Linked DNA regions of Homo sapiens: all the other regions are linked to region 2. Evidence: promoter capture Hi-C in 16 types of primary human blood cells and fetal thymus (Javierre and others, 2016). All regions are on one chromosome and are shown on one strand. Each heading gives the region's core, a stretch centred on a gene start or on the middle of the fragment in contact. The rest is flanking DNA. Distances are from core to core; before and after follow the strand shown. Region 1 overlaps RBMS1 (RNA binding motif single stranded interacting protein 1). Region 2 holds the start of TANK (TRAF family member associated NFKB activator). Region 3 overlaps RBMS1 (RNA binding motif single stranded interacting protein 1). Region 4 overlaps SLC4A10 (solute carrier family 4 member 10). Region 5 overlaps RBMS1 (RNA binding motif single stranded interacting protein 1).

Region 1 (2,700 bases), core at 126-2,625, 730 kb before region 2:
AGGTTAAATATCCTGGCCAAGATCTTGGAGTGCTTAAAAACAAATACAAAGTTTAAGAGAGAGATGTTTCTCTTAAGTAAATGCTATATATCCCTATTTTTCTACTTTTTATCTTATGTAGTAGTGATTAACAAATAATCAAGTATTGGTTAACAACTACTTTCTCCCGTGCTTCTTTTCCATAAGAACTAGTTAATCTAAACAATTGTATTCATTTATTTTTCTATTAGTCCTACCAGTTCAAAAAGTAAAAATAGTATTTTGGGACCTGTGCCTCTTTATTTATGCACACCTCTAGCTGTGTTTTGATGTTTGAGAAATGTTAATTATTTGAAAGTTCTACACACAAAGCACTGACAGCTTCAAGTGGTAAGCTGAATTTTTAAATGTGAAATGACCCTTAATTCTTTCCTTGCTTATTCTCATTGTAGACAAGTTTTACAACTCTCCTATCTGCTTGACTTTCAGTTGCATGAAATAATGATGGGGCGCTTAGCACCAGGTCCTTTGCATTTTGGTTCCCCATCCCCCTTTCCCTCCTCCAGGGTTACCTGTGATATTGTATATGACTGATATGGACATGACGGTCCCAGCAAGAGAAAGACACTGGATTTTTCCCACTGATAGCTAAGTGTTCTTGCGGGGAGTTGTGTGTGGCAGGAGGAATGGTCTCAGAATCCAAGAATGGCCTGGGTTACCTAGGCAATAGTCTAATAAAATAGTCTAATAAAATTAGACTATTGCCTAGGTAACCCAGGCCATTCTTGGATTTATTAGTTTATTCTGAAAATCTGCTAGAAATCAGATTTTCAGAATAAACTAAGTGGTCCACATTCAAGACAGAATAAAATTCAAGTTTTGAAAGCTTTGGATCCAGACCGAATCAACCTACTAGCCAGATTCTTTTCTGAGGAAGCAAGCATCCCACTATCTTTTGGTACAAAGGTTCTCATTACCTGCAGAAGACATGCTACTTCCTCGTTTCCCACAGCAGTCACAATGCAAATGAGAACAATAAGTATAAATGTTAAGTTATAGAGGCTGGAAGCCAGGAATCTACTGGGAGGCTGTTAAGATAAATGTAGATTAAGCATCTTCTACTTGATACCTTCCAAAGTCTGTTTCATAATCTTAGGCTAAAGAACCAAATCTTTCACATGGCCCACATATCTCTGCAAGACTTGACTCATACTTATTTCTCCAGTACTATCTTGCACTATTGTCTTCCTCACCACTAAGAACCAGGTAATCTGGACTTTCAGTTCCTTATACTTGCAAGGCAACCAATCCAGCAGTATGTTTCACACATGCTATTCTCTATGCATGGAATGCTCCTTCTCTACCTCTTTGCCTAGTTAACTCCAACTTATTCTTCAAGGCTCGGCTTAAATTACTTATACCAGAAAATCTTCCCTCTTAATCCCCAGAATAGGCTGGGTCTTCCTGTTATATAACCCTCATATAGCATACTGTATATCTCCTTTTCTGGACTCACAAAGCTGCAATCTAAATTATTATTTAATGTCCATCCTTTCTGCCTCATTATAAAAGCTCTTTGAGAAACGGGGTTGTGCCTGTTTTGCTCATTGTTTTATCACCAGTGTTTTGTATAGTACAGAATAGGTATTCAATACTATTTATTGAACATGAATCTATTATATTTAAAGAATTTAAAAATGTATGTCTACATATAAACTTGCATATGTTACATTATATTATATGTACTTCTGAAGATACAAAGAAGAATCTGACAGTTTCAGTAAGAAAAAGACATGCACAAATGACCAAGTGGTAAAGCAGACTCTGATCCAGTAATATGAAGAGAACTAAATAACATACCATGGAGAACAGGGAAAAGGGGATTGACTCTAAATGGTGACCATAGGAAGCTTTGTGGAGGAGAATCTGAAAGCGCCTCTAAGAACAGGGAAGATTTATACATACATTTTTCTGGCCCACTAGAAACAGCAATGTTCACAGTGTTTGCCATCCCACTAACATTTTTCTGTTCTTCACTCTTCCTTTTCACTTGGTATTCCCGAATGCCTTCCAAACTCCAGGAAATAAAAGAAACAGTGGTTTAATGGGGGCATTGGCAATGCTTAACTCAAATAAATGACATTTTGACAATAAACTATTAGAACTGTGTGAAAACCGATTTAACTCCTTGCAGCAATAATAGCTTGGCAACTGTGTAAGAACTCAGATTAGGAACTGCAAATCAATTGTCCAAAAGAAGTCTTTTCTTAAATCCAGATATAAGGTATAAGGAATGTAAGATGTTTGGGCGGGGAAAAGGGAGTAAAGGTCACGCAGGCCACCTGGTGGCAATGTGTCAGAGAAGGAGCCAGAGCTTTGGGAAAAGTGAGGCTCACTGCCAACACTGCAGGAAATCTTTGTGACACACTGGTGTGTCATGAAACAATGATTGGGTATCACTAATAACAAGCATTTCACTTAATGGTTTGGAATTCGGATATACTACATAGCCTGCCCAACTACCCAGAACAGAGCAGAATTAGATCTGGGAAATCACCCTAGTTGCCCAATCCTCAGGGAATTCTCATCCTGTTGGATCCAGCAAGCTGAGTTACGAGCTACTCTTCTCTTCTGAGGTTCCTGGCTTCTAGCTAACTGGTCACATCTCCGGGATGAGCACCTACTCTCACTGGTTTTGATACGAATATTAAAAAAAAAAAA
Region 2 (2,700 bases), core at 148-2,647:
AACACTTACAACACCAAATGCTGGCAAGGATTTGGAGCAACAGGAACTCTTATTCATTCCTGGTGGGAATGCAAAATGGTAGCCACTTTGGAAGACAATTTGGCAATTGCTTACAAAACTAAACATTCTCTTACCTTATGATCCAGCAATCATACTACTTGGTATTTATCCAAAGGAGATGAAAACTTATGTCCGCACAAAAAAACCTGCACACAGATATTTATAACAGCTTTTTTTCATCACACTGGGGTGAGGGATGTTGATAATGGGGAAGGGCTATGCTTGTGTCGGGGCAGAAAGTATATGGAAAATCTCTGGACATTCCTTTCCATTTTGCTGTGAATCTAAAACTGCCCTCAAAAAAAGTTTAAATAATTTTTTTAAAGCAGTACTGTATTGTGATGTTTAACTCAATTACTTATTACAAGAAAACTATTCAACTGGTCAAAACGTTATATATAAGAAGTTTCTGTTTGTTAAAAACATTGTTTCAAATATATTTAGGCTTTGACTTTTAAAAGTATACAGCAACATTCAAGATAACTAGACAGAATGCACTGCAACTTGGCAGGTTTTTAAATCCTTGGACTTACTGGCCTAAGGAAAGATGTGTAAACATCCATGATTCAGAAATACAGGGAGAAATTGGGGCAGCCAGACCTCATCCTCTTGCCCTAAAGGGAAAAGATATCTTTCTTGCGGTATCTAAGATATGAATCTTAGATAATATTCATGCATGGCTAGGAATTGGAATAATGGGAAAGTCTTAATTCATGGGAAATTTTCTAATAAAGTTCCACCTCCATTTCCAGCCATTCCTCTTTAACAAATACATTTAGTGAAAAATACTACCAGTTGGGGAGAAACCAAATGGGTATGTGTATATGTAGTGTTTCTCAGAGTGTGGACTTTAACCACGTTTAATTACATAAATTTACGAGGATCTGTTGAAAATGCAGGTTCCTGGGCTTCACTCCAGTTGCTCTGAAATGAAAGCTGTAGGAGTCGGTTGGTGAAACTACATTTTGTTTCTCAGGTGATTCTTGTGTACTCTAACTCATATATAGGGTGATGTTATTTATTTACTGGTTATTTATTTACCGGTTATTTATCGTTTGGCAAAAAAATCCAGCAAAGACTCACAAGTGACCTTTACACTTGACATAGGATTCTCTTCCGCTGCTGACGCTTTTTTTTTCTAAGAGGCGGGGACTTGGCTGGGCAGGGCTGGGGGAGGGCGCTAGGCGGGGCGGGCAGGGGCGGGGCAGAAGAGCCCTGGGCTGGGTGGGGCAGGGCGGAAGGGCCCTGGCCTTGTTGGGTGGAGGTGAAGAGTTAATGGCTCCGCGCGCAGGCACTGCCCTCTGAACTGGAACAAAATGCAACTTCCGGTTGGAGTCACTCGGCCAGGCGCCGGCGACCTGAGGGGAGAGGGAACGCAGCTGAAAGCGTGAACTGTGTGAGTAAGAAACTTTGTGAATTGGTGTGTCCGAATCCGTCAAGCACGACGTCGGAGAATTTGTATGCGTGAGCGAGAGGGACGCGCTGACAGTAGGGGCGCCGCAGGGAGAGAAGCCGAGGAGCAGCGGAGACAACCAATTTGCAGTTTGGGGAGGGATTTTGTGCGGGAGAAACCACGCGAGTCCTTCCCCCGGAGCGGACTCCTTGTGGGTTGGTTTCCGGGCCCGCGATGTCAGCATAGCATCGTCGGCCTCTGCCCCAACGGCTTCAAGGGAGGGACTCGTCCCGGCTGCTTTGCCCGGGAAATGGGGGTGGAAGGGCCTGCGGTGTCGAGGTGAGCAGTGGACCCTCCAGGAACATTCCCGACTTCCCTTCGGGAGAGAGACTGCCTCCTAGAATCAAGTAGTATCGTGGTTACTCTTTCGAAAACTTAATTGGTTCTTTCTGTTGTTTTCCCAAGGTGGTTGCACAATTCCCCTCTGCCTTCCTGTGGGGTGTCATCATAGCCTGGTCAATGAGAAGTTGGGTAACTTCCCAGAGGGTCACGGAGGGAGTGGGTGGCCAAGGCAGGAAGAACAGAAGCCAACCCCGCCCACAGTGGGAACCCAGGCGTTAGGTAGAGTCCTCACGCCGGTGTAAACTGACTAGCAACGAGTTACAGGCAAAAAAGCTGTGCTTTTCTAGAAGTAGAAAGGGGGAGGATAATCAAAGAAGAGCTGTGCCTTTATTGTTATGCTATAACGAGCAAAAGTAAAGCAGCCTTGCTATGTAAAGTGGTGTTTATCTCACCTCACAGGAGATGCTTTTGACAAGTTATAATAAGGGAGAGATGGTAGTAAAGGAAGTGAAGAAGCGACGTGAAATTGAAGGAAAAGAAAATGACCTGCCTTCTTACCGCGGTTGGAATACACACCCAAACGAGAGGTAGCAGAGAAGCAAGCAGTGCATTCTGTTAAAAATTATTGTGTCCTCATTTGAGAGAGGAGGGATCCTCAAATAATACAACTATGTGCAAAGCAGGAAGTGAAATCCTTCTCAGTCCTCTCCCCAGTTGTAATCCAAGCCTTCCACATCTTTCCTGTATGTGCATAACCATGTTATTTTGCTTTCTTATGAAAATGAGATTATGCATACTGTTCGATAATCTGTTTCAGATTAAATATATATATATGGTGAAAGTCTTGCCATATGTAGCTCTATTTTATTGTAATGTTGGCGTGGTACTGCATTGTGTAGATGTAC
Region 3 (2,700 bases), core at 165-2,664, 780 kb before region 2:
CGAGACCTTGTCTCAAAAACAAAAACAAACAAACAAACAAAAACAATAAAAGGAATGGCAAATCTGAAAGAAAGGTGGGTAGAGTAAGAAGAGGAGTGACCAACAAGGACATAGACTGGAAGGATCATTCTTCACAAAAGCCAGAGAATTACCCTGGTTGGTTCAGAGGAAGCTCCCACAAGTTGATGTTGGGGTAGGAGTGTGGTGGTACTAAAAAGGTAGTAGGAAGAACCTAAAAAGCAAGGTGGAATGTGGACATGATGTCACAGGTTACCAGAATCTCACATGTAGAAAAGAATTTAAACACAGTAAATGAAGAGCATGGCTTCTGGAGAATGCAAAACTAGAAAAACACTTCCCTTCCTTCTATAAAAATAATGTTTATAACAATAATAATAAAAAAAATTGGCTGGGCACGGTGGCTCATGCCTGTAATCCTAGTACTTTGGGAGGCCAAGGCAGGTGGATCACCTGAGGTCGGGAGTTCGAGACCAGCCTGACCAATATGGTGAAACCCTGTCTCTACTAAAAATGCAAAAATTAGCCAGGTGTGGTGGTGGGCGCCTGTCATCCCAGCTACTTGGGAGGCTGAGGCAGGAAAATCATCTGAACCCAGGAGGCAGAGGTTATAGTGAGCTGAGATTGCACCATTGCACTCCAGCCTGGGCAACAAGAGTGAAACTACATCTCGGGCGGGGGACGGTGGGGGGGAGGAATTGAACGGAAAAGTTAGAATATCCAGATTCAAGTTTTGTCCTGGCCAGGAGCAGGAATGAGTATTATCCCTGGAAGGCTCAGGTCTTCACGTGTGAAATAAGCAGGTTAGCCTGGATGATTTCTAAGCTTCCTTCCAGCTCCAAAATACTCTAAAATTCTGGATAGTGCTGGACAGTGCCATCTCCAGATAAGACATATCAAGACAGAGCCCAGTCAGGACCTTTAGTACTCTTGTCTGTCTGCCAAATAGAGAAATGGAGCAAGAGTTTGTTAAACTGGCAGACTCCAAGGCCAACTTCTGTGACATCGTGCAACTTAAGACCAACAGACATCATACTGCGGCACCATTTTCCTATGCCCCTTAGGCCAGCATGGATTCCCGACTTAGTCATAAGTGATTCTAAGAAAATATTCTAAATATGTAAGCTATCCTAAAACAACAACTGAAGCCTAAAGGAACAAATGTAAAACAAAAAACAATCTTAAAGAGCTCCTGAAACCAGAGTATCCTTAAGGTAGAAACAATATTACAGCTGAAATAACCATAGTAACTTAAGATCTATAGAGACTGTATGTTACTTAGCAGCCTGCCATCTTTGTGTTTCAACGTGTAATCAGTATAAAGAGTTACATTTCACATTCTATTCAATCTCTTCTATATAAAAGGACCCTGTAACAGCTCCAAAACCACTTTAAAAGAAAATTCAACACAATAAATAAATTACAGCCCAAACAAACAGTAATTAGAACGCAGTAAACACAAAATCCCACCCAACTTCAGGTGCAAAATTAATTATTCTTCTGAATTCTGAATGCAGGTGTGCAGTGTTTTCCTCCTCCTTGAATTTCCAGATCCATGCCAGTTTTCTTCCTCAACACAGAGCCTTGTGAAGGGGACAAGAGCAAACTCTTCCTTTACTTTTTACTCAAAATAAATGGAAAAAAAAAAAAAAAGAAAGAAAACTTCCTAGGGGAAGTGAAACATTACTTTTATCATGACAGTTCAGAATACCTCTGCAATGCATTTCCTGCCTCACCCCAGTAGATTTAGGATTCCAGGGCTGACAACTTCCTCCCAGCTGTTTTTTAAAGTCTATCTACAGTACAGTCTGTATCTTAGTATTTCTTGTAAGTAATGAATTACCGCTGAGATTGTAAAGTCCTCAGGGTGGAAAATACCCATTCAAAAACATACTTTCTCCACATTAAACAAACTTACTGAAAGTATTATTAGGTGATTAAATATTAAGTTAGAAAACTTATATGAGTAAGCTTATAAAAAAAATACTCCCACAAAACCAACTTATTTATTTATTCTTAGATCCAGCGGGACATGTGAATGACCTTGCAGTACCATGGGTTTCACAATTTAGCCCCTAGAGAAAAAAGCATTATCTGTACTTACAGGAAACTGAACAAGTATTTGCAATCTCCCCATAATAATAACTTAAAAACATAAAATCTTATCTGACAATGTTGTAATTTTGTGTATAAACATCACTGAGAAAATTTTTTGAATTAATATAACTCAACAATACTGTCTACTTTTGTTTCTTTCTCATGGTAAAATCTAGTAGCTTATATCTGATATGAATAATTAGAGAAAGTGAGTGATACTAGAACAGCTCTTCTATTATATATCAGTCTATGTATTTCTTTTTTTTATTTTTTAATTTATCTTATTTTATTTTTTTAAGAGACAGAGTCTCGCTCTGCCTCATGGGCTGGAATGCAGTAGTGCAATCATGGCTCACCACACCCTCAAACTCCTGGGCTCAAGTAATCCTCCTGTCACAGCCTCCCACGTAGCTGGGACAATAGGAGCATGCCATCGCGTCTGGCTAATCAAATAAATAAATAAATAAATAAATAAAAACTTTCTTTGTAGAGACTGGATCTTACTTTATTGCCTGTGTTGCCCAGGCTGCTCTTGAACTCAGCTTCAAGAGATCCTCCTGCCTCAGCCTTTCAAAGTGCTGGGAC
Region 4 (2,729 bases), core at 169-2,668, 790 kb after region 2:
ACTGAAAAATTATCCTCTGTAAGGGCCATCAGTTAAATGGATTCAGGCAGCATTTTTTTCTTATTGTAAGTGGAATCATATTAAAACAAAGTGTGGAAGTGAAATGTGTGCTGAGATTGATATTACCTTCCTGGCCATTCTGAATCTTTGCCCTTTCAACCTTATAAATCACATGACACTTGCTCTTACTCCTTGTTCTTCATGAGCCCTTGACATTCACAGCCTTTGTAAAGCTCCACATTGACAAATACACTAATTTCCCCCTTCACATATACTGTGGAATAACAAAAATGTAGTAAAGCATTCTTTAAGTGGTCCTTTCAAGTACTTGCATTTATAGAATTAAATGCAGAACTAGAACTATTTTTGTCACTGAAATAAACCTGAGGCTACATTACTAAATCTGTTTTATTGTGCAAATAAATGATTATGTAGTCAAAAGTTGTGTATTTTTGCCCCTTACTACTCTGGATTTAGTAAATGATACAGCAAATCTGGCTTAATCATAAACTCTGCTATATGGCCACAGGCAGAAGAGTCAGCCTGTTCTTGGCCACTGTGAATCTGAACTCTCCATCCTCCTTCTTAGATATGAATACTTTTAAAGCAAATTTCTTCCAGTGAAGATGTATTTCATCTACATTGAACCCCTATTGGGCCTATAACTCTTGTCTCCTATAAGCTTCTATAGAGTGTGGTCTGATGCTACTGGTTTTCCCGTTAACAACAACAAAATCACCTTCTCAGAATGTTATTTACTCAGAGTAACGGTTTGTTCCATAGTCCTTCTCCCCGCCTGTTGCTTCATTGAAATGTTTGCAAAGTCTCCTGGCTTTGACTTGAACCACATTTTCACTAAAAGATGTGTTTCTTGAGTATATCACCAGACCACAAGCTAACCACTTGTGAAAGCATTTTCAGCTTTTACTAATTTTCTTTTCTCACTTGAAAACCCATTTTTGCCTTGGTTGGAGCATTCCCCGAAATTGTTTAATGAATCATGTTTTGTAGTTTATGTATCAAACACTTGGTAGACTCCACATCATGTATCTAAGTCTACATACACCCAAGTCAACTCAGAATTCCTCATTTCATTCTTTATCTCTCCCAAACATATTTTAGATCTTTTTACTTTTTCTTCACCTCTATTGCCAGAACTAGTAGCTGGTTTTCTTTTAGATGATATTTCTCCTGCTGATAAAAATGTTTTTATTGGCCAGGCACAGTGGCTCACGCCTGTAATCCCAGCACTTTGGGAGGCCGAGACAGGTGGATCACGAGGTCAGGAGTTAGAGACCAGCCTGGCCAACATGGTGAAACCCCATCTCTACTAAAAACACAAAGATTAGCTGGGCGTAGTGGCGGGCACCTGTAATCCCAGCTACTCAGGAGGCTGAGGCAGGAGAATCGTCTGAACCTGGAAGGCAGAGGTTGCAGTGAGATGAGATCATGCCATTGCACCCTGGCCTGGGCGACAGGGTGAGACTCCGTCTCAAAAAAAAAAAATGTTTTTATCATTTCATGAGTGTCACTATTTACACAATAAAGCTGTGTTGCACTGCATAGGTGACTTACTACTCCCGAAGAATGGGGGAGCTCAAAATCAGTAAACCTCGAACTCATTGCATCCTATGATCCTTTGGATGGCTCCAGAGTGAAAGAAGAGGCAAATACAAAAATTTGAGAATGTGAAGTATCATGTATATTATACATAAATGTACATATAAATCCATACTCTCTCTAGCATTTGTTTGTTTGTTTCTCCCTTAGAGAAGTGGATTAGGCATAAGTTAACTGAATCCTTTTGAAAAGCATTAAAAATATCTACTTGGGTTTTTTAAAGCACATTCTCTAAATGTGAAAAGAGAGATAAAATCTTATAAAAAAGAAAGTTTCTGTTAAGATACAACTGTGGGCTTTTCTACATGTTTCTGTAGACAGTTCAGGCTTCTTTTGACATCATTTTTAATAAACAGCAATACAATCCCGGATCACTTGAGTAAATGAATGCATTTGCAACATTCATTTGGCACCATATTCTCTTGATGATTATGGCATTTGATATGTTCTTTTTTGCCCTCTTTGTCAGCCTGGTTCTTCATGTCAATCTATAGTCTTTTATGTGGTTAACTTGACAGATGCAGGAAATTGCTGCCAAGCTTTGAAATGAATTTTTTCAGCAGTGGCATCTGGGTATCAGATGGTCCTCTTGGCTGGCCTCTTGTCTTGCTGCATGTTGGTTTTAGTGGGGTCTGGTGTAGCATCACCTGTTGCTATGCTCCCTTTTCCTCCCATATGTCCATTTCCTGTGATTCATGGATGAATGTGAGAATAAAAGCTCTAGCTCTGTCTTTATTTGAGAAAAAAATCTACAGAAATATGTTAGAAGGTGTAGAGTTCTCTGTCTGACAAAGGGATACTTCTCTTTGGCTGGCATGCCTATCAGCTAATAATTTTGTTACAAAGTCCAAGTTTTTAAAGACATTTTAAATGAAAGGCAAGAAGGATACTGGTTAGTTAGGGGAAGAGCAAGAACTGCTTTATTTATTTCCTTTGGTTTACATTAAATCAAGATGCTGCCATTGTTGTACAGCATAATTAGGGGAAATTATATTTTTGTTTTTGTTATATATTTATATATTACAAAACTAGCTTTATAAATTTAGAAAAGAAATTATTTCCTCTGAAAGAATTATTTTGCCTACTTCCTGCAATTCAGAATCCCACTG
Region 5 (2,745 bases), core at 5-2,504, 880 kb before region 2:
GGTCACTGCAGATTAGGCAGCAGAGCCTGGCTTTTCTGACACTGACAGTCATCCTTTCCCAAAGGCAGGAGAAATTTCTAGTCAGTCTCATTGGATATGTGTGGCCCTGGCTTAGCCTTCACAAGAAACAGCTGTAGGTTTTGAGTGTATAAGGGGAAAACGCACCACCCTTTGTTCTTTTAAGCCACTATAGAATAGAGGCTAAATTAAAATCCTTTAGCCATCTTACCAGCAAAATGCTAAGCATCAAATCTGGAAGCTGATCTGGTGCCAGCTCAACCTCATTACCCAAAGGAGTCCCCTGGACTTTGGTGAAATATTTCAATATTAAGACCATGATTCAATACTCCCAAACTCCATAAAAGAAGAAATAAGCGAGAAATAATTCCCTGCTTTTACCATCTTGTATTACCTTCGTCTTTCGCTTCATGACACTGCCACAGGGACAGTGGTACTAGTTATATAGATGACACTAGTCATAAAAGGCTAGATGTGGTCACGTGTGGGTGCTATATTCTCGTAAAGGAGAGATACCCAGAGAATAGACTTTCAGTTCATCAATTAATTAAGAAATAGCTGAGTATTTACTTTATGGAAGGTCATGTGGGGGGAAGAGAGGGGATTAGACATAATCTGTTATCATAGAGGCTGTCATTTGATAGGGAAGATACAGGCTGCATTAATTTACCCTCCTCTGTTTACAGAGACACATGATAATTATTTGCCACCTACTGTTCCGGTGCTGCCTAGTGACAGATGACTCATCTGCTGGGCCAGAGGGCTGATCATTGATGCGGGCTGTAGTGACATGGTGTGCTCCATTGAGGGAGTTAACACGGCACCCTGGGGAGTTGGAGACAGGAGCAAAATTAGACAAACTGAGGCAAGAGTTAAGATCCTGTAATTACTTTTTACAAAGGAAATACCTTAGTTTGTTTAAGAATGTGAAGCAAAAACAACCTTCCTCAATCTTGCAAATGGCATCATAAACAGTTTCCTAAAAATCTTCTAAATTGCTCTTCCTGAGAGTTTTTTAAGAGCGTTAGGGGAAATGATATCTTGGCATTCACTTCACAACAATCCCTGTATTAAAGCCAGTGTCCCTCTTCTCCTTCCCTTTCCCTTCACTTCCAGTAACTGGAAGCAAGCTAGTCCAGCAGGAGGAGCTATCATAGGAAAAACAAACTGATTATCACTGCCTGCCTAGGGTTACAAAACGCTTTCTTAAAAAAAAATCTGGAAAAAAAAGGCAGTTGATGTTTTCTCCAGTCACCAAACAATGTATTATATTTAATAAGATCAATATAGTATTTTGTTTAACAATGTTCTATCCAGATAATCGTCTGGTTCAAGATCAGGTTGTTAGGATCAAGAGCACATTTCTTCATTCACTCAGTGTTTCTCAGAACTTTAAGTTACATTTTGGTGCCTGGGAGGGAAGGCAATTCAGATATGATTAATAATCTGAGTCCAGATTCTTTTATTTAATTTGAAAAAATGTTAGTCATTAAAATCAAATTAAATATATTTAGGAAAATAGGAGGGAAAAAAAAAACAATTGCTTCTAACTCAGCCAGTCTAATACAACCACTGTTAGCAATGTCAGGGTACTACTGCCAGATCATAGCCTCTGTGTGTTTCTGTACAGGTTCAATCAGAGCACATCAACAACTTCATATCCTGGGATTTTGCTCTTAACTTTGCATTCTATTCTAACCATTTACCTAGCTTGTTGAAAAACTATCATTATCATCATTTTTTTAAATGGTTACATTGATTGTATAAACCAAAATTCAATGAACTCTTTATTTTTGGACTTTTGCAATCACCTCATTATCTGAGAATGCAAGTATTCTGACACGCTCTGTAACTACTAATGTATGTTTTGTTATCACTGTACCTGGCATCCCTTAAATACAACTGTTATTTATTGATAATTAGATAGACAATCTAGGACAGAGTTAGGTGTACAGGAACTTTAATTCTGATGTAAATCAGGCAGTTTAAAGCTGGGTGGGGAAAGGTAATGAATCCTCAGATAGCAACCTTCTGCTTACATTCCTAATGTCTCCTCAAAGATGTTAAGCTCAGATACGTGCAGTCTTTTTCTCAAATGTTGCCAAAAAGAAAAAAAGATATAGATGTGTGTCAGAGATAATGTTTGTCATTAATACATTCTGTTAGAAATTTTTTTTTTAACATGCATCATCAAAAAGCAAGTGGTAACACGGAAATGACTCAGAAGCCTAGAAGATGGTGGAGCAGTTTCCTGCTCCTTTTTCTCATTCATTGGCACCATCTGTAATAGGAAGTCCTCAAATTCAAAGCAAGCTGATTTCCAAGCATTCCAAAATAGGGTAGCATGGAGTATCAGGGACACAGATTGCTATGGGCATGTGTGGATCAGTGCATGTATATTATGTACACATGTACAGGTAAGTGTGGGTTTGAAGATGTGTCTATGTATGTGCACATGTATAGATCTATATGTATGTGTATATATCACACAAAACGTATACATATATCAGAGCGCGCCTCTCCTATTTCATCACCTAAACATGTTTTATCTGCTTCTTAAAGGTCATCTCAGCAATTTCTCATTCAGAACCTGTTATCCCTGGATTGCTATTTCATATACATGGTCTTACATCGCAGTATCCACTTTAAAAGGTATCCGAAGACAAATTGCTGTCTGAACATAAGGCCAAGAATACAGTTCTTTTTCTAAGCAACCAAATCTGTTTT

The links. Contacts are between HindIII fragments. The CHiCAGO score rates a contact against its expected background, and 5 or more counts as called.
Region 1: a fragment that was not itself captured here is called in contact with the fragment with the promoter of TANK in region 2 in 1 of 17 cell types (total B cells); the score reaches 5.4 in total B cells.
Region 3: a fragment that was not itself captured here is called in contact with the fragment with the promoter of TANK in region 2 in 4 of 17 cell types (total B cells, neutrophils, naive B cells and 1 more); the score reaches 9.7 in total B cells.
Region 4: a contact is called between a fragment that was not itself captured here and the fragment with the promoter of TANK in region 2, in 2 of 17 cell types (non-activated CD4 T cells and naive CD4 T cells). The highest score is 5.3, in non-activated CD4 T cells.
Region 5: a contact is called between a fragment that was not itself captured here and the fragment with the promoter of TANK in region 2, in 1 of 17 cell types (naive CD8 T cells). The highest score is 5.5, in naive CD8 T cells.

Annotation. Positions count from the first base shown.
Region 1 is chr2:160,430,424-160,433,123 of GRCh38, forward strand. The region is part of intron 1 of RBMS1 (RNA binding motif single stranded interacting protein 1); the gene reads right to left. Among named protein-coding and RNA genes, the nearest start is that of MIR4785, 24 kb to the left of the region's middle. The HindIII fragment of the contact is 1,024 bases long and covers 864-1,887 here.
Region 2 is chr2:161,159,031-161,161,730 of GRCh38, forward strand. TANK (TRAF family member associated NFKB activator) reads left to right here and starts at 1,398. Exons shown (of 8, transcript NM_001199135.3): 1 at 1,398-1,456. It overlaps TANK-AS1 (TANK antisense RNA 1), which reads right to left and starts at 1,260. Exons shown (of 3, transcript NR_187173.1): 1 at 1,102-1,260; 2 at 135-206. RefSeq lists an enhancer at 1,108-1,871. The HindIII fragment of the contact is 6,780 bases long and covers 1-2,700 here.
Region 3 is chr2:160,374,241-160,376,940 of GRCh38, forward strand. All of the region lies in intron 1 of RBMS1 (RNA binding motif single stranded interacting protein 1), which reads right to left. Among named protein-coding and RNA genes, the nearest start is that of MIR4785, 32 kb to the right of the region's middle. The HindIII fragment of the contact is 1,146 bases long and covers 842-1,987 here.
Region 4 is chr2:161,952,114-161,954,842 of GRCh38, forward strand. The region is part of intron 19 of SLC4A10 (solute carrier family 4 member 10); the gene reads left to right. Among named protein-coding and RNA genes, the nearest start is that of DPP4, 120 kb to the right of the region's middle. The HindIII fragment of the contact is 1,477 bases long and covers 681-2,157 here.
Region 5 is chr2:160,277,816-160,280,560 of GRCh38, forward strand. RBMS1 (RNA binding motif single stranded interacting protein 1) reads right to left here. Exons shown (of 14, transcript NM_016836.4): 11 at 733-843. Among named protein-coding and RNA genes, the nearest start is that of LINC02478, 7.3 kb to the left of the region's middle. The HindIII fragment of the contact is 3,110 bases long and covers 1-2,745 here.